7 separate regions of the Homo sapiens genome follow, and all the other regions are linked to region 1. The links are contacts of gene promoters, found by promoter capture Hi-C in blood cells and fetal thymus (Javierre and others, 2016). All regions are on one chromosome and are shown on one strand. The core of a region is centred on a gene start or on the middle of the fragment in contact, and the rest is flanking DNA. Distances in the headings are between cores, read along the strand shown.

Evidence for each region. Contacts are between HindIII fragments. The CHiCAGO score rates a contact against its expected background, and 5 or more counts as called.
Region 2: a fragment that was not itself captured here is called in contact with the fragment with the promoter of ADAMTS3 in region 1 in 1 of 17 cell types (erythroblasts); the score reaches 7.0 in erythroblasts.
Region 3: a contact is called between a fragment that was not itself captured here and the fragment with the promoter of ADAMTS3 in region 1, in 1 of 17 cell types (erythroblasts). The highest score is 6.7, in erythroblasts.
Region 4: a contact is called between a fragment that was not itself captured here and the fragment with the promoter of ADAMTS3 in region 1, in 2 of 17 cell types (endothelial precursors and megakaryocytes). The highest score is 5.8, in endothelial precursors.
Region 5: a contact is called between a fragment that was not itself captured here and the fragment with the promoter of ADAMTS3 in region 1, in 1 of 17 cell types (megakaryocytes). The highest score is 6.5, in megakaryocytes.
Region 6: a contact is called between a fragment that was not itself captured here and the fragment with the promoter of ADAMTS3 in region 1, in 1 of 17 cell types (endothelial precursors). The highest score is 5.4, in endothelial precursors.
Region 7: a fragment that was not itself captured here is called in contact with the fragment with the promoter of ADAMTS3 in region 1 in 1 of 17 cell types (megakaryocytes); the score reaches 6.6 in megakaryocytes.

What each region holds. Positions count from the first base shown.
Region 1 is chr4:72,566,856-72,571,152 of GRCh38, reverse strand. ADAMTS3 (ADAM metallopeptidase with thrombospondin type 1 motif 3) reads left to right here and starts at 1,932. Exons shown (of 22, transcript NM_014243.3): 1 at 1,932-2,459; 2 at 3,752-3,779. The coding sequence starts at 2,391. The HindIII fragment of the contact is 9,487 bases long and covers 1-3,786 here.
Region 2 is chr4:73,062,814-73,067,110 of GRCh38, reverse strand. COX18 (cytochrome c oxidase assembly factor COX18) reads left to right here. Exons shown (of 6, transcript NM_001297732.2): 3 at 1,698-1,861; 4 at 2,209-2,333. Among named protein-coding and RNA genes, the nearest start is that of COX18, 4.8 kb to the left of the region's middle. The HindIII fragment of the contact is 3,339 bases long and covers 385-3,723 here.
Region 3 is chr4:73,046,137-73,050,433 of GRCh38, reverse strand. No RefSeq gene overlaps it. Among named protein-coding and RNA genes, the nearest start is that of COX18, 21 kb to the left of the region's middle. The HindIII fragment of the contact is 623 bases long and covers 2,051-2,673 here.
Region 4 is chr4:73,027,858-73,032,154 of GRCh38, reverse strand. No RefSeq gene overlaps it. Among named protein-coding and RNA genes, the nearest start is that of COX18, 40 kb to the left of the region's middle. RefSeq lists a silencer at 3,189-3,483. The HindIII fragment of the contact is 2,099 bases long and covers 1,549-3,647 here.
Region 5 is chr4:73,008,704-73,013,000 of GRCh38, reverse strand. No RefSeq gene overlaps it. Among named protein-coding and RNA genes, the nearest start is that of COX18, 59 kb to the left of the region's middle. RefSeq lists an enhancer at 538-1,433. The HindIII fragment of the contact is 4,210 bases long and covers 279-4,297 here.
Region 6 is chr4:72,976,500-72,980,796 of GRCh38, reverse strand. The region is part of intron 1 of LOC105377273 (a long non-coding RNA gene); the gene reads right to left. It overlaps LOC107986286 (a long non-coding RNA gene), which reads left to right. Exons shown (of 3, transcript XR_001741718.1): 3 at 1,195-1,209. Among named protein-coding and RNA genes, the nearest start is that of COX18, 91 kb to the left of the region's middle. The HindIII fragment of the contact is 171 bases long and covers 2,508-2,678 here.
Region 7 is chr4:72,941,510-72,945,806 of GRCh38, reverse strand. No RefSeq gene overlaps it. Among named protein-coding and RNA genes, the nearest start is that of COX18, 130 kb to the left of the region's middle. The HindIII fragment of the contact is 697 bases long and covers 1,928-2,624 here.

The DNA.
Region 1 (4,297 bases), core at 683-3,182:
GTGAAATCAATTGAGTGCTCATCTGCAATTGGGGTTGCAGGGAAAGAATGGCAAGAAAAATATCAGGGTTGTTGCATGCAGTACAGGTAAGTACTGAATCATGAAATTTTTACTGGGTCGCTATGCAATATGCATTTCTCTCTGTGGTGATGGCCAAAAATGTCTGAAGCCGCTGCTTTCCTGAAAGTCACATGAATTGCTTGCTATGCCGGGAGTTAGGTGATAACTAATGTCTGAATGTTGTAAAATTAACACAAAAGGGCCTACTGTAATAACATGGTTAAATACATTATTTGTTATTACCTAAAATCAGATGATTTTAGATCTCAAATATCTCATAGAGGAGAAACCAAAATAGAGGTTTATTCTGACTTGTCAAGGTAAGACAGCTGTTAGCTGGGTCTAGAACCTAGATCTCCTAATGTGTATCTCTAGTGTTCTTTTACTTGTCAGTGTAAATTGACAGATTTTTCATTTATGGAATGCTTAGGGTTACTTCTTTTTAATGAATAGACAAACTCGGTGTAAAATGTAGCAAATCACTCCTGGATAGCTAGTTAATGACAAGTTACAAAAATGCTACAGGCTTTAATTGAAGGAAAAAAGTAATTTAGAGATACTTCAGTGCTGGGGTCTAATTCTAATTCCAATTAATAACTAATTGACCTAATATCCTGTTTTACTAGGTGGGGCCATTTAGTTACCTAGTTTCTCATTTGTATATGTAAATGTCCTCGATATATGATTTTGAGAAGACTTAGCAGATAAAACATCAGTGAACACCAAATCTTTCCATGCTTAAGTTAAAGGCACAACCATCACGTTACCTCTCCAGGAATAAACAATGAATCGAAGTTATAGGAAACCCTCCAAACTCACATTGCTTTTAAAAAAGAACAAGAACTATGACTTATCTTGCATCTCATAACAAGATAAACACTAGCTCGTTTTATTGTGGGCAGGCCTCTTCAAGACTGTCCAGTTGAAGTCTTGAAGTTCGTATCTAAATTTGTGTCTACTCACTCCTGGCTCGTGGACCGGTCAGTGGAGGTTGGAGCTATTTCCTTTTCCTCCTGTCTGCTTTCTGGAAAGCACCCACAGGTGTCTACGCCTGGGAGGTGGGCCTGGGCTAGGATTCCAGCAAACTCTCAGGTTGGTGTCATTTCCCCTCAGGAAGCGCCAGGCCACAGCGGGCAGAAATCATTTGATAACTTAATCTGGGTGTGAGGAAGAGTCGCTGAGGCCTGTGTACTCTAGTGATAAACGGAAGCATCCGGGTGAGTCAAGGAAAGGACGTGGTATCTTTTAAAACTAATATAAACGAATAAAGCCTAAACAAGAGCTTACAAAGAAGGACACCCCCTGCCAAAACGTGGGAGGTGACTGGTGCCTGGAAGGGAGATCACCGCGTGGTTAAGATCTGGAGGTTCCAGGGCTTCTCTTCGGGGAGAATTCTCTGGCTGGGAGAACAGTGGAGGTTGGAGGAGGTGAATTTCCTACAGCCCAGGACCAGCCCTCGGACCCTCCCCCTTCCTATAATTAACTCAACGCGCGTCCCGCCAGTCGGGACCGGTGGCGCCCCTGGACCCTCCCCTCCTCTCGCCCTAGGCGGAGAAGGAGAGGCTCCAGGGTGGGAGGTCGAGCCCGGGCCACACCAGCCCCCGAGCGGTCTCCAATCCTGACACGGTGCGGGGGGCGCGGGTTCGGGCCCCGCATGACGTGGGCGCCACGGCGGGAGGGGCAGTCCGGGGAGCTCCGGACGCCTTATTAGCGCCCCGCGGGTCGCCAGCAGCCAGCAGACTGCCGCGCTGCGAGCAACAGGAGCCGGCGAGCGGCCCACTCCTCCCACCTCCTCCGCCTGCCTTCTCCTCCTCCCCTTCGCTCCTCCCGCCCCCACCTCTGCGTGTGCGGCGGAGTCGCCCTCTCCCTGCCTCTTTCTCCCGCTCCCGCTCGCTCGTCTCTCTCGCTAATACTTCCCCCTGCTGTGCTCCGGGGAACCCAAGCATTCTCCGCGCTAACCTTAGGGACCAATGGTGCTCGAAAAGCCTCGAAAAAGCTGCTTTGGGCAGAGATAGTTGGAAAGCCCCTCGTCCCTTCCCCCTCTCCCAGGCTTAGCCTGTGCCCGCTTACAGCACCTTCTCGCTCCTGCACACTCTGTGTTGGGAGGACGGGGTGAGAAGGTGAAGTGGAAAAAACTGCAGAGCAGAGGGGGCCAGTCTCAGAGCTCAAATTTCATTTTCATTGAAGCAAAGCACAGAAGATCATTTTTTTCTATTTCGCATTTTTTCCCTTTTCCTTTTTTTCTTAAAGAAACTTATTTTGGGCGGGGGGGGTGGGTTTGCTCTGGGCATTTGCTTTGCCCAGTAGTTGGAAAGTGAACTCGACTCGTGATGGTTCTCCTGTCACTTTGGTTGATAGCAGCCGCTCTGGTAGAGGTTAGGACTTCAGCTGATGGACAAGTAAGTGGAAAATAATAACAATAAAAAAAAACTCAAACCCAACCTTTTCCCGAAAAGTTCCTCCCCTCTCTACCCTCCTCTCTTTCCTCCTTCTCCTCCCACCCTTCCCTGTTATCTTTTGCGTTCAGAAACGGTGTTTTGAGGGCTGGGCGCAGCGTGCGGGCTTTTGGGGGTAGAGGGTTGAGTTGCACGGGAGGTTACGACTCCCACTCCGGGAGCCCAGTCTTGTCACACCTAGGGCTTCACCAGTCTGCGACATTCGTAACAATTCCTAGTGACAAACCGCAGCCAGTTCCCATCCTCGCCGGGCCATCTGGGCTTCCCCTTTCTGGAGGGCGGTCTGGGCGCTTGAATGAAGTTCTGGACGCTGGGTCCGGGATCCCAGCGCTCTGGCTGCTGCCGCCAGAGTCGGGTTCCTGGAGCTTTCTCTCCTCCGAACTGACTCACGGTTTTTTCGGGCAGCCGGAGGCGGGGGTTTCAGGAAGTCCTTGGGCCGGACAGGGAGAGATCCAGTAGACACGTGTCCTGGGAGTACCACGGCCGGGCTAGGATTTGACAGTTGGGGAGGGGGGCTGGAGACGTTTCCTGCCCTCCGTTTTCCTGGGCAGAGGCTGCAGGCGCCGGCCGCCTTCTCCCCTCCCCCTCTGCACAACTCCTCCTCTTTTTAAAGCTAAGTTGAGTGCAGCTCTGTTTCTTTTCGGCCCTGCCCCCAACCCTTTGGAGGCTCAAGGTGAAGCCCGATGCTCTCAGAAGAGTCCTTGAGAAGGCTCCGCCAGGGGAGCTGTTTGTAGTAAATCATATCAGCACTGGGCCGATGGGACTTTGGGTACAGAATTTCTCTGTTAGTTTTTGTAGCTTCTCCGGTCGGCCTGGTCTGAACGACCATAGGGTAAAAAGTAGAGAATTGTCTAGTTGATTCCTGACCTTAAATCTGATTAATCAGGCCCCCTGTTAGGTGTATTTTGGCCTGTTAAATTCATACTTTCTTTTCTAATCCAGACCCAGTACGACATTTCAGAAGAGAGCATTGAGAGTCTGTATGTATTTTTGCTGGCTTCATAAGTGTTAAATTAAAATGAAAAGGGGCAAACAACTCCCTTCCCCAAATTGTTATGGAATTGGCTCATGGAACCTTCTACAAACCAAGGTGCAGGCTTTAGGCACCAATCCCAGTCTCTAGCATCTCCTGATTAGTTAGCTCTTGGAAACCATTAATGGTAGAAATAAAACTCACAAGGTGATAAGATGAAACCCAGTAACTTTCTTTTTCTTGCTTTCCCCCTCCTTTCCAGGCTGGTAATGAAGAAATGGTGCAAATAGGTAAGCTTTGTTCTCAGATGTCACTCTTATCTTAAGTTGAAAGTAAGGGAATGAAGTGAGCTAAGCAAAATATTGTTTCTGAAATGTTTCCCACTGGTGGTTAAAAAAAATAATCTGTAGTCCGGAAACATTTCTGTTCTTCTCTTCCTCTTTCTGGAGGAAGGTCCCACTTTCCTGGGGCTAAATTATAGTGAGGTAAAAATTCTCCTGCAGTTGGACATTTCAAGCATCAGTTTATTACTGTCTTTGTACAAGCCACTGATATGTACTTGGAAGATGATGGAGGGGCTGTAAGATGATATGGAGATGAATGAAATAAAATCATCAACTTCTGTAGCATTTAGGAGGAGCACATTTGAGTACAACAGAAGGCAAGAATGCTACATAGAAGAGAACAATGAAGTACAGAGCATGGAAATTTTTCTCTTACAATCTTTCCTGCTTTGGGTAAATCCTCTGATGACTTCTGTTATTCAATCTGCTTTAAAATAATTATCTCCTAATGTGAAAGATACTGT
Region 2 (4,297 bases), core at 805-3,304, 500 kb before region 1:
CCCAATCTAAGGGTGCTTGATTGCGCCCAAGGATGTCTGCATTCATTCACTGGGAACTTACAAGCCCTCTTGCTTCAATCAACTCCTCAATCAGTTTCCCAAACTCTAATCCTTACTAGACTGCGAAAAATTATTCTCCTTTTTACAGCAATGGAAAAAGGCCTTTGTGGTATCAATCTGTGTTATGTGTATATTATTAACCATATATTTTTATATAGTTGTACATTTCCCAACTATCTTTAATACGAGATTGTGTCCTATATTTAGTGTTAAAAAGATCTGACATTTTAAAAAATCGTGGTGATAGCTTAATGTCTTTATTTGGTAAAAATTAAAAGTTGACCTATAGGTTTGAAATTTTACTTATCAAAGAAGTCGAAAGCTTCAGCCATAGGCCAAAAGAACCAGATTAATAGCTGCTTGCCTGGGTTATCAACGCAGCCTAGATAAGACTTGTGGCACCTTGCTTAAGCAGTACTGGCAGGATGGTTGTGCAGATACAGCCTTACAGATGTTTCTTTCTAGGAGGAAACATCTGAGGGCTTCTGGCATTTTCTTTTCTTTTCTTTTCTTTTTTGTTTTTTTGAACAAGACAGAATCTCCCTGTGTTGTGCAGGCTGATCTCAAACTCCTGGCCTCAAGCAATCCTCCCACTTTGGCCTCCCAAGTAGCTGGAATTACAAGTGCAAGCCACAGTGTTGGCCAGCTTCCTGCATTTTCAATAGTATTGAGTCTTGAAGGGTAAAAGACGGTGTGTCAGATGGACAGCCAGGAAAGTGGGCTTTCCACACAGATGATATAATACAGTACTTCCAAAGGCATGCCTATGCGGAAGTCTGATTTGTTGGATGAACTAAAGTCATTCAGACCAGAATATGCAGGTGTCTAGAGGAGTAACGAGATAAAATTGGAAGAATAGGCAAATGTGAAATTATGGAGGACCTAGAATGTCTTTGTGTACTGTCTTATTATACACTATAATTTGACTAAATTCAGAAAAACTATTGAATGCCTCCTCTGTACAAAATATATGATACAGGAGATTTAAAGATGAATAAAATAGAACACTGTCCCCTAAACTAAGAATACTTTAGTTTTTGTTTTTTAACTCCTATTCTCTTGGACCTGAAGGAAGACTGTATTCTAAAAAGTAAAATTTCAGGAAAAAACAGTAGTAACTAATATGGTTAACAGAGAAACAGATTAAAAATATCTTTGTGAGATAGTTGATTGAAAAATGGAGACTATTTTGACAGGCCAAGAGCATACACAGTATAAAACCACATAGCTCCAAAAGGTATATTCAGGGATGAAGTGGTTAAGTTTGGCGGGAGTGGAGAGATTTGATTAAAGTTTGCTTTTAGCTTCCATATTTCCAATATTAATTGTAGTTATACCATGTCAGTAGTGAAATTTACCTTTAAAGCCTAATCAGCCAAAGACCACCAGAGACAAAGCCTGTAGTCTGACAATTTCAGATTGTTATGTAACTTGTGTACCATACTGTAGAAGTTTTGATAAAAGGCTTTATTTGCCTGTTGTTTAGGCAACTCCTTAACATGCCTGTGACAGCTGAAACCCTTATACAAATCCTTTAGCTAATAACTACAGCAGGCGCTATTTGTGCTATGGAAATAAAGCACGATTCTTAGATGACATTTTCTCTTTCCCCTTTTTTCCCCCTAACCTCAATCTAGGCTCACTTATCTAAAGAATATGAGGAGGCTAATTTCAGAGCTATATGTGCGAGATAACTGCCACCCTTTCAAAGCCACTGTGTTGGTTTGGATTCAGCTTCCAATGTGGATCTTCATGTCTTTTGCTCTCCGGAATTTAAGCACGGGGGCAGCACATTCAGAAGGTAATTATTGTATGTCTTCTCCCAAAGAAGTTCTCTAACATTGTCTTTGTACTAAAAAAAAAAAAAAAAAAAAAAAAGCATACTTTTCATAATTACGATATGTTTACTATCTTCCTTATAAGGGTATAGAATTTAAAGTCTTAAGTGTAAACAGATTGGTTGTGTTGTGAACATTTTGTATTGAGAAAAAATATATATATTGTGCGTGAAAAACTGGAATAAATCCAGTGCAGATCTTTCCTGTGAGGGACACCTTATTGGAATTGTCAGACTACTTATTTATGTCTTATATATTTTTCTCTGCTATTTTTAGGACTTCTATTGTTTTATTTATAAAACTGTTTTAGCAGGTTTTTCTGTTCAGGAACAGTTAGCTACTGGTGGAATTCTGTGGTTTCCTGACCTCACTGCACCCGACTCCACTTGGATTCTGCCTATCTCTGTTGGCGTCATCAATTTGTTAATAGTGGAGGTCAGTAGTTTTAAATGAAATTTGTTTGCCATTTATGGGGATTTTTGTTGCTGCTGTTTTGACTTCAAATCTGTTTTTGTTTGAGTTGGTGAAGATAGCTCTGAGTTAGAAGTGAGATCCCTTGGTTCCTGGTTCCACGTCAGGCATTGGCTTAGGCCTGTCCCTTAACCTCTCTGGGCCTCAGAACTCTCGAAATTAAAGTAAAAGCACTAGTATACTTCCAAGTCTCTTTCAGCTTCAAAATTATATGATTCTGATACATAGAATTTTGTGACTTGCTTTTGGCAAAAACAGTAATAAAGATGCCCAGTCAATCTGGTTGTATTCTTAAAATAGAGTGATGTTCCGTGTGTGTGTTTAATATGTGAATTTGTAGGCGGAGAACACAAGTCAGGCCCTGACTGCTATTTTCTTGCTTTATGACCTTAGAAAAGTCATTGAATGTCTTTATAAGATGAAATGGGAAAAACATACACATAGAAAATGTGACCTCTCAGTCATGTCTTTTTTTTTCTTTTTTTTTTGAGATGGAGTTTTGCTCTTGTTGCCCAGGCCGGAGTGTAATGGCGCAGTCTTGGCTCACTGCAACCTCTGCCTCCTGAGTAGCTGGGATTATAGGCGCACACCACCACACCCGGCTAATTTTTGTATTTTTAGTAGAGACAGGGTTTCACCATGTTTGCCAGGCTGGTCTCGAACTCCTGACCTCAGGTGATCCACCCGCCTTGGCCTTCCAAAGTGCTGGGATTACAGGCATGAGCCACTGTGCCCAGCCCTCTCAGTCATGTCTTAACCCTTATCACAGGCTGCTTTACTCAGCAGTTTAGGGAAAGCGTGCATATAATTTCATAAATTGTTCTCAGACTCTGAGTAGAACAGACTGGACTGGAAGAAATCTTAAAAATGATTTACCTCAGTAGAGATCTCCCAGACCTCATGACCTCTGATGCCTGTTTGTGAAATCTAATATACCCCTTATTCTTTCAGATGAGGAAAATGGAGATGATAGAATATAAGGTCTTAAGTGAAAGTTTCTTGAGGAAAGACTCTACCTGTAGTCCAAATATGTTTCCCTAAGAGCACTAGCACAGTCCCCTGTGGTTGGTGTTCAGTGAATATTTGGTAGAAAGAAGGAAGTGATAAGCACAAGGTTACAGTGAATCAATGTCAATCCCCTAGTCTTTTCCTCTATGTCATCTAAAGACTAATAAAGGTGTTTTCATAGCGGGGCATGGTGGCGTGCGCCTCTAGTTCCAGCTACTTGGAAGCTGAGTCAGGAGGATTGTTTGAGCCCAAGAGATGGAGGCTGCAGTGAGTTGTGATCCCACCACTGTACTCTAGCCTGGGCGACAGAGAGAAAGACCTCACCTCTAAAAGAAAAATAAAAGCTTATTAAAAGCTTATTCTTACTCAACATACACTATGTGCAAGGCATTGTGTTTTTTGTTTGTTTGTTTGTTTGTTTTTTTCTTGAGACAGAGTCTCACTCTGTTTCCTAGGCTGGAGTGCAGTGGTGTGATCTCCACTCACTGCAACCTCCACCTCCCAGGTTCAGGTGATTCTCTTGTCTCAGCCTCTCGAGTAGCTGGGATTACAGGCGCCCGCCAACACACCCAGCTAATTTTTTGTATTTTTAGTAGAGACTGGGTTTTACCATGTTGGCCAGGCTGGTCTGGAACTCCTGACCTCAAATGATCCGCCCGCCTCAGCCTCCCAAAGTGCTGGAATTACAGGTGTGAGCCACTGTGCCTGGCCATAGGCATTGTTATAAGCAATTTACATAAATCAACTCATTTACTTCTTGGAATAACCCTGTGAGCTAAATATTATCCTTTTTTAATGCAGAGAAAGTGAGGCATAAAAATGTAAAACTACGTAGTTTGGCTCTAGAGTCATAATTATGGAGAAGTCTTTTTTTTTTTTTCCTTCTTTTCTTTTTTTTGGAGACGGTCTTACTCTGTCAC
Region 3 (4,297 bases), core at 1,113-3,612, 480 kb before region 1:
GTTTGCGCTGCTTATTACCACCAAGAGAAAGATATTGAAGAAATCTATTGGAGATATTTTACATCTTTTTGAAAATTTTCTTTTAAGATTGTGGAAATTAGGATCAACCCAAAGCCAAAATTTTGATAAACTAATTTTTTAATCTGGCTTTAGAGATTGCCCCTAAGGAAAAGGATTAGTTCCACCAAAAGAGGATCCTCTTTCTCCACAGTTCTCTATCCCCATGCTCAGAAAGCCTAGCCTTCATATCTGTTTCAACTAAGTCCCTCCACAATCCCAATTAAGAACTATATATAAGGCCGGGTGCGGTGGCTTACACCTGTAATCCCAGCACTTTGGGAGGCCGAGGCGGGCGGATCACGAGGTCAAGAGATGGAGACCATCCTGGCCAACATGGTGAAACCTCGTCTCTACTAAAAATACAAAAATTAGCCAGGCATGGTGGCACGTGCCTATAATCCCAGCTACTTGGGAGGCTGAGGTAGGAGAATTGCTTGAATCCGAGTGGCAGAGGTTGCATTGAGCCAAAATCATGCCACTGCACTCCAGCCTGGGCAAAAGAGTGAGACAATGTCTCAGAGAAAAAAAAAAAAAAACACTACGTATAAAAGCATTTTGATCCTGGTTGATATACATCCATAGGAACCACAAGGTTGGCAGGGTGCAGTGGCTCACTGCCTGTAATCCCAGCACTTTGGGAGGCTGAGGTGGGTGGATTACTTGAGGTCAGGAGTTCGAGACCAGCCTGGCCAAAATGGTGAAACACCATCTCTACTAAAAATACAAAAATAAGCCAGGTGTGGTGGCACATGCCTGTAATTCCAGCTACTCAGGAAGCTGATGTAGGAGAATCAATTGAACCTGGGAGGCAGAGATTGCAGTGAACCAGGTAACTCCAACTGCATTGCATTCCAGCCTGGACAACAGGAGTGAGACCCTGTCTTAAAAAAAAAGAACCACAAGGTCTGGCTGATAGCACAAGAAAAGGAAAAACAAATAGCAGGCAAGGAACAGCTAGAAAATTTTCAAGTTTTGTTAATCAACTATATTAAAACTAAGGAAGCACTTTCCTAACAGGCCTTGCCTACTTCTCACAACACTAAATTTTTGGAGGGCTGTAACTTGAACTTGAGGGAGACAAAACTTTACCCAAAGCGTGAGTAACAGAGGGACCATGTTTCCTTGTGTTCTACAACTGACTACCTTCTTTATTGACCGGTGTTTAGGTAAGTGTTGCAAGGTAGCCTTACTTTCAATTGCCTAGTCCTATACTGCTGGTTTTGTTTTATAAAATAAGGACTTTTTTTGTGTTTTAGAACAAACGCATCAATGGAAAGACCTGAAATAAAAATCAGTGCTTCAAGAAAGCAACCTCAACCATTCCTATTGAATTATTCTAAGGCAACAAAAGATAAATTTCTATCCTTTGTTTGTTTGTTTGTTTGTTTTTTGGAACACAGATTTTCACTTGGTCACCCAGGCTGGAGTGCTATGGTGCAGTTTTAGCTCACTGCAACTTTGAATTCCTGGGCTAAAGCAATCCTCCTGTCTCAGCCTCCTGAGTACCTGAGACTACAGGTGCATGCCACCATTCCCAGCTAATTTCTAAAATTTTTTGTAGAGATGGAGTCTTGCTACATTGTCCAGGCTGGTTTTGAACTCCTGTTCTGGCCCCAACACCTGGCCCAAATTTCTATCCTTGAAGATCTCTGCTAGAATTTCATTAGAAAGAGGCCACTTTGGAAAATGACCAATTTCTCTTTTCCATTTTGAGATTTCACAGGCATGCTTCCCTCTCTTTGTACCTCTGATGAGGCAATTCTTAATACATTTGTTTTGCCTTAACTGGGAATTGGGAAGGCAGTATTGTATTTAATTTAGCTTTGATTTTTGTCTTTTGGGAAAATTATAGCTCTGCAGGACAACATAAAAATGGAATATGAAATATACCTTACTATATTCATTTGATAGCATTTGTGTTTTTGTATATCTGCATGTTCCAACTGTTGCACAATTAATAATTTGAAGAATTTTTTTCTAATTATAAGCTTCTGTGAAAGGGCCACATGCACAAAGCAGCCCCCAAATGCAGAAGGACCCAAGGAACCAAAGAACAAGGCAGACAAAACCAGTTTGCAGTAAAGGATGATTTACTGGGGAACTTAGAGATGGAAGCATGGTCTTGGGCAGCAGCAAGACAGGTAGGCCTCTGCATCAATACTCCCCAGACCCAGGGCTTTTATACCATAAGGAAAGGGTGTACATGCTGTATAGAGACAGTTAAAGGCAAACCTCCAGAAGAGGCAAGACTGCTATGTGGTCATAGCCTATAATTTGTGTGATAACATCAAGGTTGCTTGGATCTAATGGCCGGCATGTTCTTACACTAAGGACAGTAAATAAAATAGGACTCAGGAGGCGTCTTTAGGACTGGGGTTAATTAGAAGTCAACATGGCAGATTAGCATCCAATATAGAGTCACTTTTATTGCCACAAACCTCAAGTTTCCTGGATTTTCAGTGAATGATGGATGCCTCTGAGGGTGGACATACTAAAAATATAAAATCTGTACCTATAGGGAGAATTTGCAGCTTCTTCTATGCTATTTAAAATTTATTTCGTGGGCTGCTAAAAGTAAGAAATTTTCTTCTTGTAAAGTTTATTATAGAAGCTTCAGTTATGCTTATCAATATTGTTTTTGAGTACAGATGTTAAATGTTCTGTTTTGTGGTCCAAACAAAAACAAGTTCCCATTTAAAATTAAACTCGCAACAAAATACAATCTTAAAATGAAATATCTTCTTCCTCATCTTTATTTCTAATCCCCTCCCCAACAGAGAGAAAGACTTACAGATGAATTATTGGAACTTATACTCTATATCTATGTGATAATGTGTTATTTTACTTAAAATGCAGTCAATCCTCATTATTTACATATTATAGGAGTGAGTTATAATGCTGTTGGCTGTGAGTTCCATGTTAATGAATTAATACATAGCTTTGTTCTTTGTGTGTTTCTATTTGAAGACGTTAATATATACATATATGCACATTTATATGTATAGTATCTATGTATGTTTATTTTATATACAGGCATACCTTATATTGCACTTTGCTTTCGTGTGTTTCACAGATATTGTGCTTTTTACACATTAAGGGATTGTGCCAACCCTGCTTCAAGCAAGTCTATCAGCCCCATTTTTTCCAGTATCATGTGCTCACTTTGTGTCTCTGTGTCACATTTTGGCAACTCTTGCAATATTTCACACTTTTTCATTATTATATCTGTTATGGTGATCTGTGATCAGAGATCTTAGTGTTTATTTTTTTATTTTTTAAAATAAACTATATATGTATATATATTTTTTGTAGCGATGGGGTCTCCCTATATTACCTGGACTGGTCTCCAAGTTGTGGCCTCAAGTGATCCTGCCACCTCAGCATCCTAAAGTGCTGGGAATACAGGTGTGGGCTACCATGTCTAGCTCGATCAGTGATCTTTGATATTACTATGATCATTGTTTTGTGGTGTCATGAAACATACCCCTATAAGACTAGTGAACTTAATCCATAAACGTCGTGTATGTTCTCACTGCCCCAGTACCGGCCATTCCCCCATCCCTTTCCCTCTCCTTGGGCCTCCTTATTCACTGAGACATAACAATGTTTAAATTAGGCCAATTAATAACCTTACAGTGGACTCTTAAGTGTTTAAGTGAAAGGAAGACCGACATATCTCATTTTAAATCGGAAGGCATGTCAAAACCCAAGATGAACTGAAAGCTAGACCTCTTGTGCCAAACAGCCACATTGTGAATGCAAAGGAAAGGTTCTTGAAGGACATTAAAAGTGCTACTCCAGTGAATGCACAAATGACAGGAAAGCAAAACAGCTGGATTGCTGACATGGAGAAAGTTTTAATGCTCTGGATAGAAGTTTAAACCAGCCACAACATTCCCTTAAACTAAAGCTTAATCTAGAGCAAGGCCCAACTCTCTTCAATTCTGTGAAGGCTGAGAGAGGTGAGAAAGCTGCAGAAGAAAACTTGGAAGCCAGCCGAGGTAGGTACATGAGGTTTAAGGAAAGAAGTCTCCATAACATAATAGTGCAAGTGCAGCAGCAAGTGCTAATGTAGAAACTGCAGCAAGTTCTCCAGAGTATCTACCTAAGATGACAGATGAAAGTGACTACACTGAACAAAAGATTTTCAATGTAGATAAAACAGCCTTCTAGTGGAAGAACGTGCCATCTAGGATTTTGATAGCCAGAGAGGAGAAGTCAATGCCTGGCTTCAAAG
Region 4 (4,297 bases), core at 1,349-3,848, 460 kb before region 1:
GAGACCAGCCTGGCCAACATAGTAAAACCTCGTTCCTACTAAAAATACAAAATTTAGTAGGCCATGGTGCCGCACGCCTGTAATCCCAGCTAGTAGGGGGACTGAGGCAGGAGAATCGCTTGAACCCGGGAGGCGGAGGTTGCAGTGAGCCAAGATCAGGCCACTGCACTCCAGCCTGGGTGACAGAGTGAGACTTCATCCCCCCCCCACCAAAAAAAAAACCCAAAAAACCAAGTACATATTAGTTTTTTAGACTCTATATGATTGCACACTTAATAGATTACACCGTAGTGTAAACATAACTTTATATGCACTGGGAAACCAAAAAAATTTGCATGACTCATTTTATTTTGATATTTGCTTCATTGGGGTGGTCCAGAGATGAACCTGCAATGTTTTTGAGGTATGTTTTTACTTACGTATGTTGCATTAATTAAAATGAGCATGTATTACTTCTATAATTTAAAAAAAATTTACATTACCCAACTGCATAAAATAATTTAAACTAGTGTCTTTTAAAATCAAGGACCTAATTACATTTTCAATTTTTTTCTATAATTATTGGTTTACTTAAGGTCATCACTTATTCTTTTTTTTTTTTTTTTTTTTTTGAGACAGAGTCTCGCTATTGTTGCCCAGTCTGGAGTGCAATGGCACAATCTTGGCTCACTGCAACCTCCACCTCCCAGGTTCAAGGAATTCTGCCTCAGCCTCTGAGTAGCTGGAACAACAGGTGCCAACCACCACACCTGGCTAATTTTTGTATTTTTAGTAGAGACAGGGTTTCAGCACATTGGCCAGGTTGGTCTCGAAATCCTGGCCTCAAGTGATCTTCCCACCTTGGCCTCCCAGGTTCTGGGATTACACATGTGAGCCACTGTGCCCAGCCTTATTCTTTAAGCCAATTTTGGTAGTTTATATTTCTTAAAATAATTTTAGACAATTTTTTTATTTTTAAGTGTATTGGTATAAATAGATTATTCTTTTATAATATAAAATATTTTATATTATTTATTCCTATGGATTTATTATGTTTATTCTCTTTTGTTCAATTGTTTAGACTTGGCAAAGCTTATCTGATAATTTACTTATTAAAATAAATAGCTTTAGATTTTCTTTTTAACTTTACTATTATTTCTATTTCATTAAATTATATTTGAAAAATAAATGTGGCTAACTCTTGATAACTTCTGTTGACATAAACTTCTGTTGATAACTTCCTGAGTTGAAACTCTCTTTCATGTATTTTATAATAAATGAATTTGTGTTTAAGAAAACACTATGTACATACTTTAATTTAAAAAATACTTCGTTGCTCAAAATGCTAACAATTATCTGACCCTTTACCTTTAGTGAGTTGTAATCTTTTTGTTGGTAGAGGGTCTTGCATTGATGTTGATGGCTGCTGATTCGTCAGGGTGGCAGCTGCTTAAGGTTAGGGTAGCTGTGGCAATTTCTTCATCGTCTGCAATCATCTACACTTACTTCTACTAAAGTTTGAACATTTCAAAGCCACCCGTGAGGATTAGAATCAACTTCTTTCAAGCTTCTATTAGTGGTCTTTTGATTTCCTCCGTTGAATCACAAATGTTCTTAATGACATTGAGAATGGTGAATCCTTTCCAGAAGGGTTTCAATGTATTTTGCCCAGATCCATCAGAGGAATCACTAACCATGGCAGTAATTTCAACTTTAAGTCATGTTTAAGAAATATATTTTTCAAGGAAAAATTACTCCTTGAAATTATTTCTTGATCCATGGGCTACAAAATGGATACTATGTTAGCAGGCTTGAAAACAACATTAATTTCCTGGTATATCTCCATCAGAGCTCTTGGACGACCAAGTGCATTGTCAATGAGCAGTAAAATTTGAAGGAAATATTTTTTTCTAAGAAGTAGGTCTCAATAGTGGGCTTAAAATATTCAGTAAAGTATGCTGTAAAGAGATATGCTGGCATCCATGCTTTGTTGTTTCATTTACAGAGCACAGGCAGAATGGATTTAGCATCATTCTTAAGGGCTTAGGATTTTCAGAATGGTACATGAACATTGGCTTCAACTGAAAGTCACCAGCTGCATTAGTCCATAATATGAGTCAGCCTGTCCTTTGAAACTTTGAAGCCAGGCATTGACTTCTCCTCTCTAGCTATCAAAATCCTAAATGGCACATTCTTCCACTACAAGACTGTTTTGTCCACATTGAAAATCTTTTTTTCGGTATAGTCACTTTCATCAGTTATCGTAGCTAGATCTTCTGAAGAACTTGCTGTAGTTTCTACACGAGCACTTGCTGCTTCACCTTGCACTATTATGTTATGGAGACAACTTCTTTCCTTAAACCTCATGTATCAACCTCTGCTGGCCTCCGAGTTTTCTTTTGTAATTTGCTTACCTCTCTCAGCCTTCACAGAATTGAAGACGATTGGAGTCTTGCTTTGGTTTAGGCATTAGCTTAAGAGAATGTTGTGTTTGGTTTAATCTTCTATCTAAATCATGAAAACTTTATCCTTTTCAGCAATAAGGCTGTTTTGCTTTTGTATCCCTTGTGTCTTTAGTGAAGTAGCACTTTTCATGTCCTTCAATAACTTTTCGTTTGCATTCACAATTTGGCTAACTGTTTGGCACAAAAGGCCTAGCTTCTGGCCTACCTTGGCTTTTGACTTGCCTTACTCACTGAATGTAATCATTTCTAGTTTTTGATTTAAAGTGAGAGATGTGCAACTCTTTCTTTCATTTGAGCACTCACGAGTTCACTGTAGGGCTATTAATTGGCCTAATTTCAATATTGTTGTGTCTCAGAGAATAGGAAGGCCCAAGGAGGACAGAGATGGGGAACGGCTGGTCAGTGGAGGAGTTAGAATGCATACATTTATCTATTAAATTTACTGCCTTATATGGGCATGGTTCATGGTGCCCCTAAACAATTACAATAATAATATCAAGGACCACTGATCACTGTAACAGATATAATTATGAAAACATTTGAAATATTGTGAGAATTACCAAAATGTGACACAGAGACACCAAATGAGCACATGCCATCAGAAAATAGCACTAATACATTTGCTCAAAGGAGCATTGCCAAAAACCTTCAAGTTGTAAAAAATACAATATAGCAAAGTGCAATAAAGCAAAGCACTATAAAATGAGGGTTGCCTGTATATGGGGAAACGAAAGAAAGATAAGAGTTATTTTATGAAGGTCCTTTTGTACAAAATTCTCTCTGCCTCGACTCCCTGTGCCTGGTGATAAGGATATTTCTTTTCTTCTGGTATAAGGAGGGCATCTTTCACGTGGGCGTTTTGTCTCATGCTTTTGAAAAGAAAAGAGGAAGTCAGAATCCATCTTCCTGCACCTCTGGCTTCCAAACGCCTTTAATGCAAAGTAATTCTTATGCTGAAGTGGTATATATTGGGGTGGCATATTCTGCCATCCCCCATTAGACAGAAAGAACACTTCAGGAGGTACTTGGAGAAAGAGTTTGTTTTTTCCTCTCTCCTTTTTTTTTCTTTTATTTTTCCTTTTTTTTTTTCTTTTCCTCACAATAAACAAAAGTTTTCTGTTAGGTCTTATAGGTGAGAGTGAGCCATGCTTCTCATATAGTGACAGGAAAATAATAGAGACTGTCCAACTTAACCTGCAAGCTTTTCCTTGGATTTTACTTATCTTTAATTCCCCTAGTCTGGGGAAAACAGCCTGGCTGCATCAACACTCATGGCTTGAGGTAGCAGGGATCTGACAGGTATAAATTTGAACTCTATTCTAAATCAGTCCCAGCTTCCTTGGGTCTTTTCCAGTACTCAGATGGGATTTCCTAACAGTTTGCCATTGCATGCCCTCTTACCCACACATCAGAAGTAGAAAAATGTGTCTCCCTGAAGAAAAGAGCCCTCAACTCTCTCAGGAGTTCCTGCCGCAGAACACGGGGCACTGGTGCAGCTGCAAAAACTGCAACTAGATAACTAGTTGTGGTTCAGGCATCATGACTTAAAGTTAACTCAGGGAAATAGTCCTGGCTGCTCTATCCTTGTAGCTAGCAATTTTTTTTTTATTATACTTTAAGTTCCAGGGTACATGTGCACAACGTGCAGGTTTGTTACATATGTATACATGTTCCATATTGGTGTGCTGCACCCATTAACTCGTCATTTACATTAGGTATATCTCCCAATGCTATCTCTCCTCCCCTCCCCCCACCCTATGACAGGCCCCGGTGTGTGATGTCCCCCTTCCTGTGTCCAAGTGTTCTCATTGTTCAGTTCCCACCTATGAGTGAGAACATGCAGTGTTTGGTTT
Region 5 (4,297 bases), core at 1,134-3,633, 440 kb before region 1:
TTCCACCCACTTGGCCTGGCAGGCTGCACTTAGCTCACGCTACCTCCCTGGATTCCATGGCTCCAAGGGAGACTGTGAATCAGGTGTGGAGTGGCGAGGGGTGTGTGAGTGAATGTGGGGTATGGCCACTGTGCAGAGACACACCAGCTGCTGCCATTGGGTGGGCCACTCCAGGTGCTGGCATGGGCGCTAGCTCTCTGTGAGGCTGTGGCTGGACCAGGTGCAGCATAAGTTGCTTCCCCAGCTGGCACCAGGGTATGTGATGGTGCCTGGAAGCTTGGAGATACCAGGAAATGCAGGGCCCCAAAAAGGGAGTCACAGCCCTGACTTGGGGGAACTCCCAGGTCTGGGCTCTCCAAAGGGCTGCAGCTTTCCTCTTCTTCTCTTTGCCTGCAACATGGCAAGCAAGGGGCATGTTTCAGCCCTGTTCGTGTTACAGCTCTTTTAGTCTCACCATTCAGTGGGCCCCAAGTTCTTGTCCTGCAACCAGGAAGAATGAAGTACACAGAGAAGTGAAGGGTAAGCAAGACAAAGAGGAGCTTTATTGAGCAGTAGAACAGCTCAGAGGAGACCTGCAGTGGGCAGCTTCACTCTGTAGTCAGGGTGTCCAGATGAGTGTTCAGCTCTTAGCAGAGAGGGTAGTTCCTCTCTGCAGTTGGTCATCCCTCTGTCTCCTGAGCTCTCAGCAGAGGGGAGACCCTGGGATGGGCAGCTCCTTTCTGCATCTGGTCTCCCCATTGTCTCTTTCCTCAAGCCTGGCTGAGTCTGGGGTTTTTATGGGCCTCAGAGTGGAGGAAGTTGTGCTGATTGTTCCATGGGTGGCCATAGGTGGGCCCAGGGAAAAGCACCACAAGTTCCCCCTCTAGTCCAGGGGACTGGTGGCTGGGCCCCCAGGCTTCAGGCCCTCCCCAGCTTGAAGGTGGGGCTTCACCAGACTGGTCCCCTCCACCCAGAACCCTGTCTGCCTCCTCCCACAGCTCATGGAACCCAGGCTGTTTGTGCCAGGGCGTGCCTGCAGGCCAGCACCTGACTATCCTCAGCCCCTCCTCAACCTCCCTCCCTTACTTGTCAGCACCCCAAATCCGGAGGGGCCAAGAGGTGGCAGGAGGCTGGCATGTCAACATTGCTCTGAGTGTGTTCCCCCGCTGCCGTTGGGCTGTGACAGCACCTGGGCTCGGCCCTGATCTTGTTCCAAGATTGGAGCAGGAGCCAACAGCAGGGAGAAGCCAGGCAGCAGCAGCAGGCACCCTTGAGCCCACAGGAGACAGGGCTGCCTTTGTGGGCTCCCAAGAGTGCAAAGATACATGGATCCACAGCCTTGGCAGGGTGGCCACAGCTGCACCCAGGGAGTTCTTGCCCTGCCAACTCAGAAGGGGTGGGACTCCCATTTGTCCCTGGCTCCCACTGGCTTTGTGGAGCATGCAGCCCTGCCCACACCTCCTTGCAGTTTGGGGCAGGGGCTCCAGGTTCTCCCTGCACCCTGGCCATCATCTGGGGCAGGGGAGACATTGCTGTGAGTTCTTCCCATGGCCAGGTGCTCAGGGGTGGCCCAGGGCTCTCCCTCCCTTGGCTCCTGGCCCTGCCTGGGGAGAGACTCCAGGAGTGGATTGTGGGCCCCAGTCTTGGCCATCAGGAGGGTCAGGCTCTGCAGTCACTGTGATGTGGGGCAGACCCTAGGCATGTGGCCCTGGGCTACCCCACATACAGCATCCTCCCTAGGTGCAGGAACCTGGCACTGTTGTTGGGGTGGGCATGGTGGCTGGTCTGCTGGCCAGGTCCTTGAAGTGGGTGTGGCGCCCATTTCCTGGCCTGACCCCTGAAGCATGGCCCCAGCTCTGTGCCCTGGGCCAGCTGCCATGTTCCTTGTGCAGGTGCAGTACCACCACGGGTCCAGCTTTGTCTCGAGGCCCCTCTCTGCCCACCACTTTGTGCCTGACCATGCTGCTCCCTAGCTGGTAGGTGACTTGACCTCACCCCACTGCAGCAGCCCCCAGGGTGGTGGGCTCCTGGGAGCTTCCAGGGGAGGGCTCAGGGGACTGTTCACTTCTCTCCATGCCCTACCTGCAATGGCAATGGGCGAGAGTGGTGATGTGGGGCCAGGGTCTGGAGCAGCAGTGAATCTGGGCCTGGGGCCAGGTCATGCCTGGCTGTGTGAGATTGGGGGTGGCACAGTCAGCTGCCTCAGGGATATGGGGCACAGGGTATATAAGGCACAGGGGACCCACTGCTACCACTGCTGCTCCTGTCACAATGGCTGCTCCAGATGGCTTGCCACGGCCATCAGTAGTAAACGAAAAGTAATCTGCAAGAATATTTCATTGTTATCAGAAGCAGAGAAATGGACACGCATGGTGAATCTGGCCCAGGCTGCTCCTTGGTTATAGAGATCCCATGGAAATTGTGAACAAATGCTACCACTGATATTAATACCATGATGATCATGACTGCCATTAACTGAGCACCTAGCATGGTAATAGAGACTAGTAAACATTTTGTCTATGATGTTTCATTTATATTTCACAAGTACTCTATGAAGTAGACATCATTTATCCTGTTTTATGAACCAAAGCCCCATTTTTAAAGATAATAAAGCTGGGTAAGTTAGAGCGTGCTGAGAGTTGTGTTTGCAAATAGATTGTAGGACTACTCAGATGTTCTTAGCCCTGGCGATGGGTGGGATGGGCTTGGGGCTGTTGGATTCCCAAGCCAGTTACCTTTGACCAAGTGCTACTTTGACCCAGTGTGTTGTACAAATATTATAACTGTCTATGCCTAACAAGATGTGAAAATTGGCAGGCGCATTAAATTACTCATCTAAGGTGACAGTGCTCATATACAGCCCAATTAGGGATCTAAATCAAGGTCTGTGTAACACTAGAGGCCATTTCTTTTCACTATACTTCACTGTCTTTGAAGATCTGAGGAGTGATGTTTCAGAAACGTCATGTCCTTCATATGAAAGCAGAAAAAACAGCAGGAGGTGTTTAATTATGCAATATGGGTTTCACACAGAAGATGCAGATTCAAACACTTTAGTACCACTAGGGCTGGTACGTGATGTAGACTAGTGTGGGATTAAGATTGAGGGCTCTGTTGCATGTAGCTGGACTTCCTGGATTTAGAACCAGATTCCATCACTTACTAGCTGTTTGGCTTTGGGCAAATTACTCTGTTTTTTGTGCTTCAGGTTTCTATTTTGTGAAATGAAGATTAATTTGTTTGTTGATTTGACAAATATTTATTGAAGGTCTTCTATGTGTCAGGCACTGTTTTAGGATCTGCAAATGCAGCAGTGAACAATGTACCTGCTTTCTGAGTTTATCCAACTTGGAATTCATTGGGCTTCTTGGATGTGTAGATGAATGTTTTTTAAAAACGAAATTTGAGAAGTTATTGGTCATTATTTCTTAACAATTTTTTTACACCTTTCTCTTTCTTCTTTCCTTTTGGGACTCTGATTATGTGTATTCAGGTATCCTGATTGTTTCCTACAGGTGTCCAGCTCTGTTCATTTTCTTCATTAGTTTTTCTTTCTGTTTCTTTCCCTGGGTATTCTCAATTGACCTATCTTTTCTGTTTTCTGATCTTATCTTTTCTGTTTTCTGATCTGAATCTTATGCCAGTTCTGCTATGAAGAAGTGCTAGTGAGGAATGTTGAGATGAGCACTACTTTAGCTAGAGTGCATATGGAATGCCTCTTTGAGGAGACGACATTTGAATTGTTACCTTAATGAGACAACTTGTATATATCCAAGAAAAAGAACAGAAGTGTGAAGATGACCAATTTTACACAAGGAACAGAAAAAAGAACAGGGAGGGATATGAGAACAGAGAGGGGGACAGAACACCTAGAGTCAGGAGGCCCTGACAAGTAGTTTCGGACTTTTTTTTTTATTGCAAAGGAAAGACAATGAAGGGTTTTTAGTATGACATGTTGGGATCTGATTTAGACTTGAAAAAAATCAATTGATTTGTTTTTTGGAGAGTAGATTTTTGATCATCAGGGAGTAAGATTTGAGGCAGGGAGACTACCAATGAGAATATTATAAAATACTCCAGACCAGATATGATGGTGGCTTGGGTTGGCTGCATAGGGAGGAGATGGTGTGGAGCAGCTGGGTTTGGAATATAGTTTGGAAGTAAGGTTGATAGGATGTACTGATTGATTGGATGTGAGGTGTGGAGTAAAAAAAAGATGATTCCTAGGATTTAAGTGTAATCAATTGAATGAATTTCAGTGCCATTTACTGGGATGGGGTAGGCTTTGGGTATGAGCAGTGCAGAAAAATTTGAGAGA
Region 6 (4,297 bases), core at 1,344-3,843, 410 kb before region 1:
GCCCAGGAGTTTGAGAACAGCCTGTGTAACATGGCAAAACCGTGTTTCTACAAAAAATACAAAAAATTACCCAAACTTGGTGGCACGCAACTGTAGTCCCAACCACTTGAGAGGCTGAGGCGGGTGAATCATCTGAGCTCAAGAAAGTCAAGGCTGCAGTGAGCCATGATTATGCCACTGCACTCCAGCCTAAGTGATGGAATGAGGCCCTGTTTCAAAAAAAAAAGGTACAACTGATCTCACCTTATGCATCGATTAGAAAATTCATTTTAGTATACCTGATTACTTCTGTATCTATTTGAATTCTCTTTTGAAGCAGTTACTTTTGTATATTATTGATTCCCTCATTAATAAATCAGTTAAATATAATTTTGACATGTGTATTAATTTGTTCTCATACTGCTGTAATGTACTGCCTCGGACTGGGTAATTTGTAAAGGAAAGAGGTTTAATTGACTCACAGTTCCACATGGCTGAGGATGCCTCAGGAAACTTACAATTACAGTGGAAGGTGAAGGGGAAGCAAGGTACCTTCTTCACAAGGGAGCAGGAGGGAGAATGAACACAGAAGGAACTACCGAACACTTATAAAACCATCAGATCTTGTGAGAACTCACTATCATGAGAACAGCATGGGGGAAACTGCCCCCATGATCCAATTACTTCCACCTAGTCTCTCCCTTGACAAGAGGAGATTATGAGGATTATGGGGATTATAATTCAAGATGAGACTTGGGTGGGGACACAAAGCCTAACCATATCAACATGTGTTAACATTATATGAGAGTTATAACTTTATATGAGAGTCATGATCTTACTCTTAAAAAACTATCTCTTTACATAATCAGTGGGGAGGAGGAAGCTAAAATGTTTAATTTCCGATATGTAGGGTTGATTTTGCCCTAGTTTTATCTAACTTTAGTTCCTAAACAAGGAGACTGTAATTAGAGTAAAAAGTAAATAGTTATTTGATAAATTTTGGCAAATTCATTGTTGAAATTTCTCTCAGAAATTGAGAAAGTGAAACTCTAAAGTGGGTAACAAATATTTTTCAAAGTGAGCTAGTTTCATATTTGTTTAACAAATATGTCCGTTTGATAGATCATTACAGAAATTTCAGTGATAGATCACTGTGTTACTTTTATAGCACTTTTTCTTTTTTTTTTTGAGACAGAGTCTCGTTCTGTCGCCTAGGCTGGAGTGCAGTGGCGGGATCTTGGCTCACTGCAAGCTCCACCTCCTGGGTTCACACCATTCTCCTGCCTCAGCCTCCCAAGTAGCTGGGACTACAGGCGCCTGCCACCACGCCCAGCTAATTTTTTTTGTATTTTTAGTAGAGACAGGGTTTCACCATGTTAGCCAGGATGGTCTCGATCTCCTGACCTTGTGATCCACCTGCCTCCACCTCCCAAAGTGCTGGGATTACAGGTGTGAGCTACTGCACCCGGCCTCTTAAAATAGCACTTTTATAACAAAGTACCACAAACTGGGTTGCTTAAAACAATAGAAATTTATTGTTTCACAGTTCTAGAGTGTGAAAGTCTGAAATTGAGGTGTCAGCAGGGCTCCCTCTTGAGTCTGTAGGGGCGAATCCTTGCTTACCACTTTAGCTTCTGGCATTTGCTGGCAATCCTTGGTATTCCCTGGCTCGCACCACTCTTAATCTCTGCGTTTGTCATCACATGACTCTTGTGTGTCTTCACATCATTTTTCCTCAGTGAGTGTCTGTGTCCAAATGTCCCTCTTTTATAAGAGCACCAGTCATACTGGATGAGGGGCCCACCCTACTTCAGTATATCCTCATCTTAACCGGTTATACCTGCAACATCTCTATTTCCAAATAAGGTCACGTTCTGAGGTACTGGGGGTTAGAACTTCAACATATGAATTTGGGTAATGGTTAATACAATTCAACCATAACAAGGAGAAGCCAGAAATCTGGTGGAAAGAAATTACTAACTCATAGCCAGAGAATTGACCAAAAACCTTGATAATTTCACATGTTCTTCTCTGTTTTCTTTTGGGTTCTGAGTCAATACAAATTGAGGGTTCTACTGGGTCCCCAGGTACTCATCCCTGGTTGGAGAGCTATTTAGGAGGTAGGTCCATCAGAAGTGTAATTCTATTTCAAAGGTGACTTGGTGTGTGGAGCTCACCTGGGGTAAAGGCAGTGGTAATGTGTGGGTGAACAAAATGGCGAGGTAGACGAGTCCAGATACAAATTGAAAAGGACCTTTCTGCTCTGGATTCACTTCCCAACACATCACAGAAAGTAATTCCTACTGGACCTGGGTAAAGCGTCTTCTCTCCAAGTAGAATGTGACCCTCTCCTTCCAGAGTCACAGATTTATGAGTTTTCCTGTTGGTTTCTTTATTTTCGTCTCCCTAGTTGCCCAGAGGAAAATCAGGATAATTCTGAAAGTAGAACTTTCAACCCAAGCTCTTTTATTGCTCCTAGGTTTGTGGTTTTGAGTATTACTCATACATTTACACCCACAAAGTAAGCTTGAGCCGTTGAAGTGTGGTCATTAATTAATCAATTAACCTAAGTAAATCCTTCCCTGTTATGCATTTCTTGTCTCATCTTTCCAGGGAGTTTGAAACCAGGTTTCCAATCATTTCTGATGATGAAGGATCCTCTGGCTTAGGACTCGCAGTAGAAAAGTTCATGGAAAGCTTAGGGTGTTAACCTCTTTCCTGGTGGTGTTCCAGCTGGTTTTAAATCCGTCTGCTTACTTTGGCTTTCCCACATTACCTCTTTATGTGGCTGTTACAGGAACCTTCCTCTCAGTGTCCAATAAAACCCACCCCATCCCTTCTCAATCTTGCTACAAAAAGTTGGAAAAAACCGGATGGTGATCTTACTTTAATTGAAGGCCACAGGATAGACAGAGGCAATTAGGTACATGAACTTAGGAGTGGTCATTATTTTTCACACTGAACTGTTCCAGTGAGGAACAATCAGGAAAGAGTTCCTTGGAATCTCCCTTTACCTAATGAGCCCTCTGGAAGAAATTTGAGTCCCATGAGAATTTGAGGTTCACCTAGCAGTTTAAGAAAGGATTAGCAATTTATGTGTGCTAAGAGCCAATGGCAAAAGGAAAGTTGTTCTTGAGTTGTGGGTGGTCAAATGTCCATGGAGCTATGGAATTGTCTGAAGGCTGTATGTACAGCAATGAGGAAAAACACAAGGACATCTTCTTGGCAGACAGCTGTACTAGCCATCCAGGCAAGTGCTGAGCACTGATGAGGATGTTCAAATGTAGAGAGCAATACACTCAGAGCCCGGACATTGGGGTTCCTGTCTCTGTTCTTCCATTCGCCAGCTGGGGAATTGAGTGTAATCCCTTAGACTCTGAATCTCATTTGCTTTTTTAACGTTTCTTACCATGTGCTCTGGTTGAAGTAACTTTTCCACAGGTCTTTTCTGTTGCTTGAAGTCTCTTTTGACCAAAACTTTGTTAAAATACACATATATGTATTTGGGTATTATTAGTACTGTTATTGATATTGCTACTGGTATTGTGTAATGGTGGCAACTGTGGTGGGCACCTTAATTTGAGTGCTTTATATCTATTACTTTCCTTAATCCTCATAATGACTATATGAAGAGGTATTATCACTATTTACAGTTGGGAAACTAAACTTCAGGTAGGTTGTTAAAATATCCAAGTGGAAACAGATAGTTAAAAGGCACCTAGCCAGTGGGTAGGGCCAGTGAAAATGGGACACATAGGAATTTGAAGGATTGTAAAAGTGGGGTAAGTCTCTGAAGGGGTGTGCCAAAAGAGGCTCCCTTTTTTTTTTTTTTCTGAGATGGAGTCTCACTCTGTCACCCAGGCTGGAGTGCAGTGGCCCTATTTGTGCTCACTCCAACCTCCACCTCTGGGTTCCAGTGACTCTCCTGCCCCAGCCTCCCGAGTAGCTGGGACTACAGGCATATACCACCATGCGCAGCTAACTTTTGTATTTTTAGTACAGATGAGGTTTCACCATGTTGGCCAGGATGGTACTGATCTCTTGATCTCATGATCTGCCCACCTCGGCCTCCCAAAGTGCTGGGATTGCAGGGGTGAGCCACCGCACCCAGCCGAGGGGCTCCCTTTTTAAGGGAAGTGGCAGAGGGGTACAGAGGAGACTGCTGAGCATTTCCAAAAAAGCCCCCCCACCAAAAAACGTTAAAAAGTACAGAAAAGGAAGATGCTAGAAATAAGATTTTATTTATTGTTTAAGTTGTTTTTACCACTTTCTTCATAATTATCAAAATAACACATGCACATTAAAGAAAAATCAGGCT
Region 7 (4,297 bases), core at 1,027-3,526, 370 kb before region 1:
GTGGGAATAAAAGAGCTGTAACCCTCTCGTTTGCTCACTGAAGTACAGGAACGAAGAAGCTGCTGGGCACCATTACTTCCCTCTCACCAAGCAACAGGAGAGAAAAAGCCTTTGGGTGTCATTCCCTCCCACTTGCCCAACGACAAAAGCCACAACAATAACAATATGCCAGCATCACTACTTTTGCACTTTGGAGTCACTATTAAATAAAATAAGGGTTACTTGAACACAAGCACTGTGATACTACAGCAGTCGATCTGATTGATCATCAAGATGGCTACTGTGAGTAACCAGTAAGTAGAGTAGACAGTATACTGGACAAATGGGTGATTCATGTCCAGATTCAACCCAGGCAGGTTGGAGAGGGATGGCATGGGATTTCATCATGATACGCAGGATGGCATGCAATTTGAAACTTATGAATTGTTTGTTTTTGGAAATTTCCATTTAATATTTTCAGACTACAGTTGGCCACAAGTAACTGAAGCCATGGAATTCAAAACTGCAAATAAGGGGAGGACTACTCTACAGTGTTTTATAGTTGAACTAGCATTGCTTTCTCTATGGAACATTTTCTTCCCTCCTGATTCTCCAAGTTTTGTTAAGACAAAGACTGTGTCTTATTTATTTGTGTCTCTCTGGAACCTCACACAGGTTTTGGAATGACATTAAATGCTCAAGAAACATTTGTTAAATTGAGCTAACTAAGTTGATTTCTCACTATTTTTATGTTGTTATTTCCAGTTTTTGCTTAAGTTGCTATTGTGGAATCTTAGGATTACTATTATTCACATCTTTTTTAAGGCCCAGAAAGAAGTAACTAAGCAGCAGTGACATGAATAGTAACATCACATATTTTTATGAATCAACACACAAAAGAAGAATTAGAGGCAAATTTTAGAATTAAATATATAACTTTGGTCTCTGTATTAAATTTAAGGCTACAAAAACCCTGATATCCTTTCAGTGTCTACCCGAAGAAGACAAATGTTAATTTCCAGTGAGTTCAACCCAGTTTAAATTCCCCAGAATTTTTTCCCTAAACTTTCCCCTAAAGTCAATCAAAAACTCCCCTGTGCCTACTCTGCATCAGTGTTCTGCTTCAACATTGGCATTTGCTTATTTCTAACACTGACCTCGGCACAGGGAGCTAGAATTAGAGATCGGAAGTTCCAAACTGATGATCTGCACCCAAATATGCCCCATGTAGTTGGTTCTATCTGGTATCTTAAACATTAGTGTTTCTATTTGGGGTTCCCTATGACCACACTTAGGTTTAATGATTAGGTAGAGGACTCACAGAATAGAGAAAAGCTATTTTATTCATGATTATGGCTTATTACAGCAAAAGGATACAGATTAGAATCAACAATGGAAAAAGTTCATAGGGTAAAGTTCAGGGAACATCAGGCACAAGCTTCTTCTACTTGTCCTCTGCCAACAACAAAGTATGATAACATACAGGGAATATTGCTAACCAGGGCAGCTCACCTGATTTTTGACATGCAGTGTTTTTGTTGGTTGATCACAAAACTATGGGTGACTGGCTGTGTGCCTGACATTTGTCGCCAGCTCTTCTAGAGCTCAAGCAGATACCACATGGTCCAAAGCCCCAACACTAATTACATTTTAGTATAGACTGTCTGGTGTGGTCCAAGACCCTTATGTAAACAAAATACTCTTGTTGAACAAAATATTCCAAGGCTTTAGAGATTACATTCCAGGAACCAGGCAACCTTTCATTGGAATGGGTAGGATGTGGACAACCCAGACCTGCTGAGTTAATCCTTTCCTGCAGCAGTATTAATAGTAAACCTGCAACGTTTAGGAGATTTCCTATTTAATATGTATTTTGGAATTCTCTAGAAAAATGGGAAGATCTGACCCATGCTTCAACCTGGCTGCTATTGACAGGAACTGGGAAGCTTTTCTTGTTTTAGATAAGGTATGTGCTTTCCAATCCACCAGGATTACATCCAGTTAATTTCACTCAATTACATGATGTTCCCATTTCTTATAAGCATTAGAGTATAGATGATTTGGAAACTAAGAGATATTGAAAATTCAGGCTCAAATTTAAAAAATCATCCTTCACCTGATGAATTTGTCATCTGTCTCCTCAAGTTGTTTTTCTGTGCTTCTCTGTTCACCATTCTTTTGCCTTATCCGTGGGATAAATTATTATTCTGGGAATATTGTCATCCAAAGGAGGCAGAAGAACCAGAAAATTCCTCTGGAGCCGTAGTTTTCAAAATTTTTTAGTCCAAGAACTACTGCAGCAGTTAACTATATGCCATCTATTTTTCCCAAGCTCACTCATCCCTTACTCCTTCTAAGCTGCCCTCAGCAGAATTAAAAGAATAAATATAATTTCTCTTTTAATAAGATATTATTCAGTACCATATAGAAACTTAGCTTGGGACTAGGACATAAACTTTGAGATTACATATGACCAGTCTTAAATCACCTATAGCACTTTTTGTTGGAACTTTTTGTTCTAAGTTACTCTCCTATGACCTGGCTACTTGGTCATAATGAAAGTAGTTCTTAAACCAAAAATGCCATACATTCAGATATTTTGGCAAATAGAGACACAGCTGTTTATATACTTTGTTAGGTAAGCTTGATGAAGTCCCAGTCTTCTGTCTTTTTAGATGCTTTGGCCACTTCATTACAAGAATGATTTTTTTTTTTTTTGAGGAACCATATATATCAATACAGAAGTAAGAACAAGGCAACTGAAATTCCTCCTAATCCAAGAGCTCAAAGGAGGACTTTTAAGGATCAAGCCTGATCATTACCTATAAGGGTGCAGGACAGAAGCTTCCAAGATTCGTAGACTCTGTTCAAGTATGTTTAGGAAAAATCATGAAAATATTTTAGCTAATTCATGTCCTGAATACCTCGAGCCTATTTCTGAAATCTATCTTGCTAAATAACAAACCAGTGAAGTTGCTAATAAAAGCCATTTCTGATACTTCCTGTGCTGGTTAGTGAAGTCTGAGCTGTTGACGGAAGAGATAAGGCTAATCAAAATGCCTGCAGTGCCCCCCTCGGAGTGTGACCTTTCTGAAATAATACCTGCTAACTATCCTTGGAGTAAGTATCCTTACTCCTTTATAGAGTAATTTCTTACATTAGAGTGGAAACTTAAACTCACTGGCGTATTAATTTAAATACTACATTGTCTTTGCTGAACTATTTTAGAGCAAATTACATGTATCATAATACCTTTTTAGATGTCTACTGATAATGATTTATAGATTACCCCTTGAGAAAGAGAATAGTTATCATATGCTCTGTTCCCAGTCCCAAGCAGGAGCAGCACTTAAAATGTCCTCGCATATAGGTACCTTCCATATTCTTAAATCTTGTGGTCATTGTGGAGGAAGGAGAGACCTTATCAGTGAGTTTATGGTTTTTATATTTTAACTCTTTTGCTAATACTCATTTTGAGAAAAAAATGCCATTTTTCCTTACTTAAAAAGTAATGATTAATAAAAGAATATGACTTATATTACATAGAACACATGGCTGTAATGCAAGAAATCATAATGAAAAACTGGCATCCAGAATATAGGGGTAAAATAATTCTTGGCTTGCAGTAGCATATCTGTTGTTGATGTTTGTTCTTCATAAAAATGAATAAAAAACATTATAAAACTCAGAAATAATGTGTTAATCTTAGTGCAATAATATGAAAGCAAGATCTCTTTCTTGAGTCATTATCAAGAACTATAAGTTTCATTTATAGCTATGTACTTAAACTCATTAAGAAGCCAATTTTATTACTGAAAGTCTTGCAGGAAAACTAAATTTATTGTTGAGTTTGCAACTCTCTTGCCCCCAATCTCTTTTTCCTCCACTGAAACAATTGTTTTTACTGCATGAATTTGGATAACTAAATTTTAGGAACACAGGATCACATTATAACACAATAGATTTTATGTAACACTAACAGTGTATACGAAACTAGAAGAGACAGATGAGAGGGCTTGTGAATATCTGAGCTATTTTATTTTATTTTTTTTTTTTTGAGATGGAATCTCTCTCTTTCACCCAGGTTGGAGTGCAGTGGCGCGATCTTGGCTCACTGCAAGCTCCGCCTCCCGGGTTCACGCCATTCTCCTACCTCAACCTCCCCAGTAGCTGGGACTACAGGCATCCGCCACCTCACCAGGCTAATTTTTTGTATTTTTAGTAGAGATGGGGTTTCACCATGTTAGCCAGGATGGTCTCGATTTCCTGACTTCATGATCTGCCCTCCTCGGTCTCCCATAGTGCTGGGATTACAGGC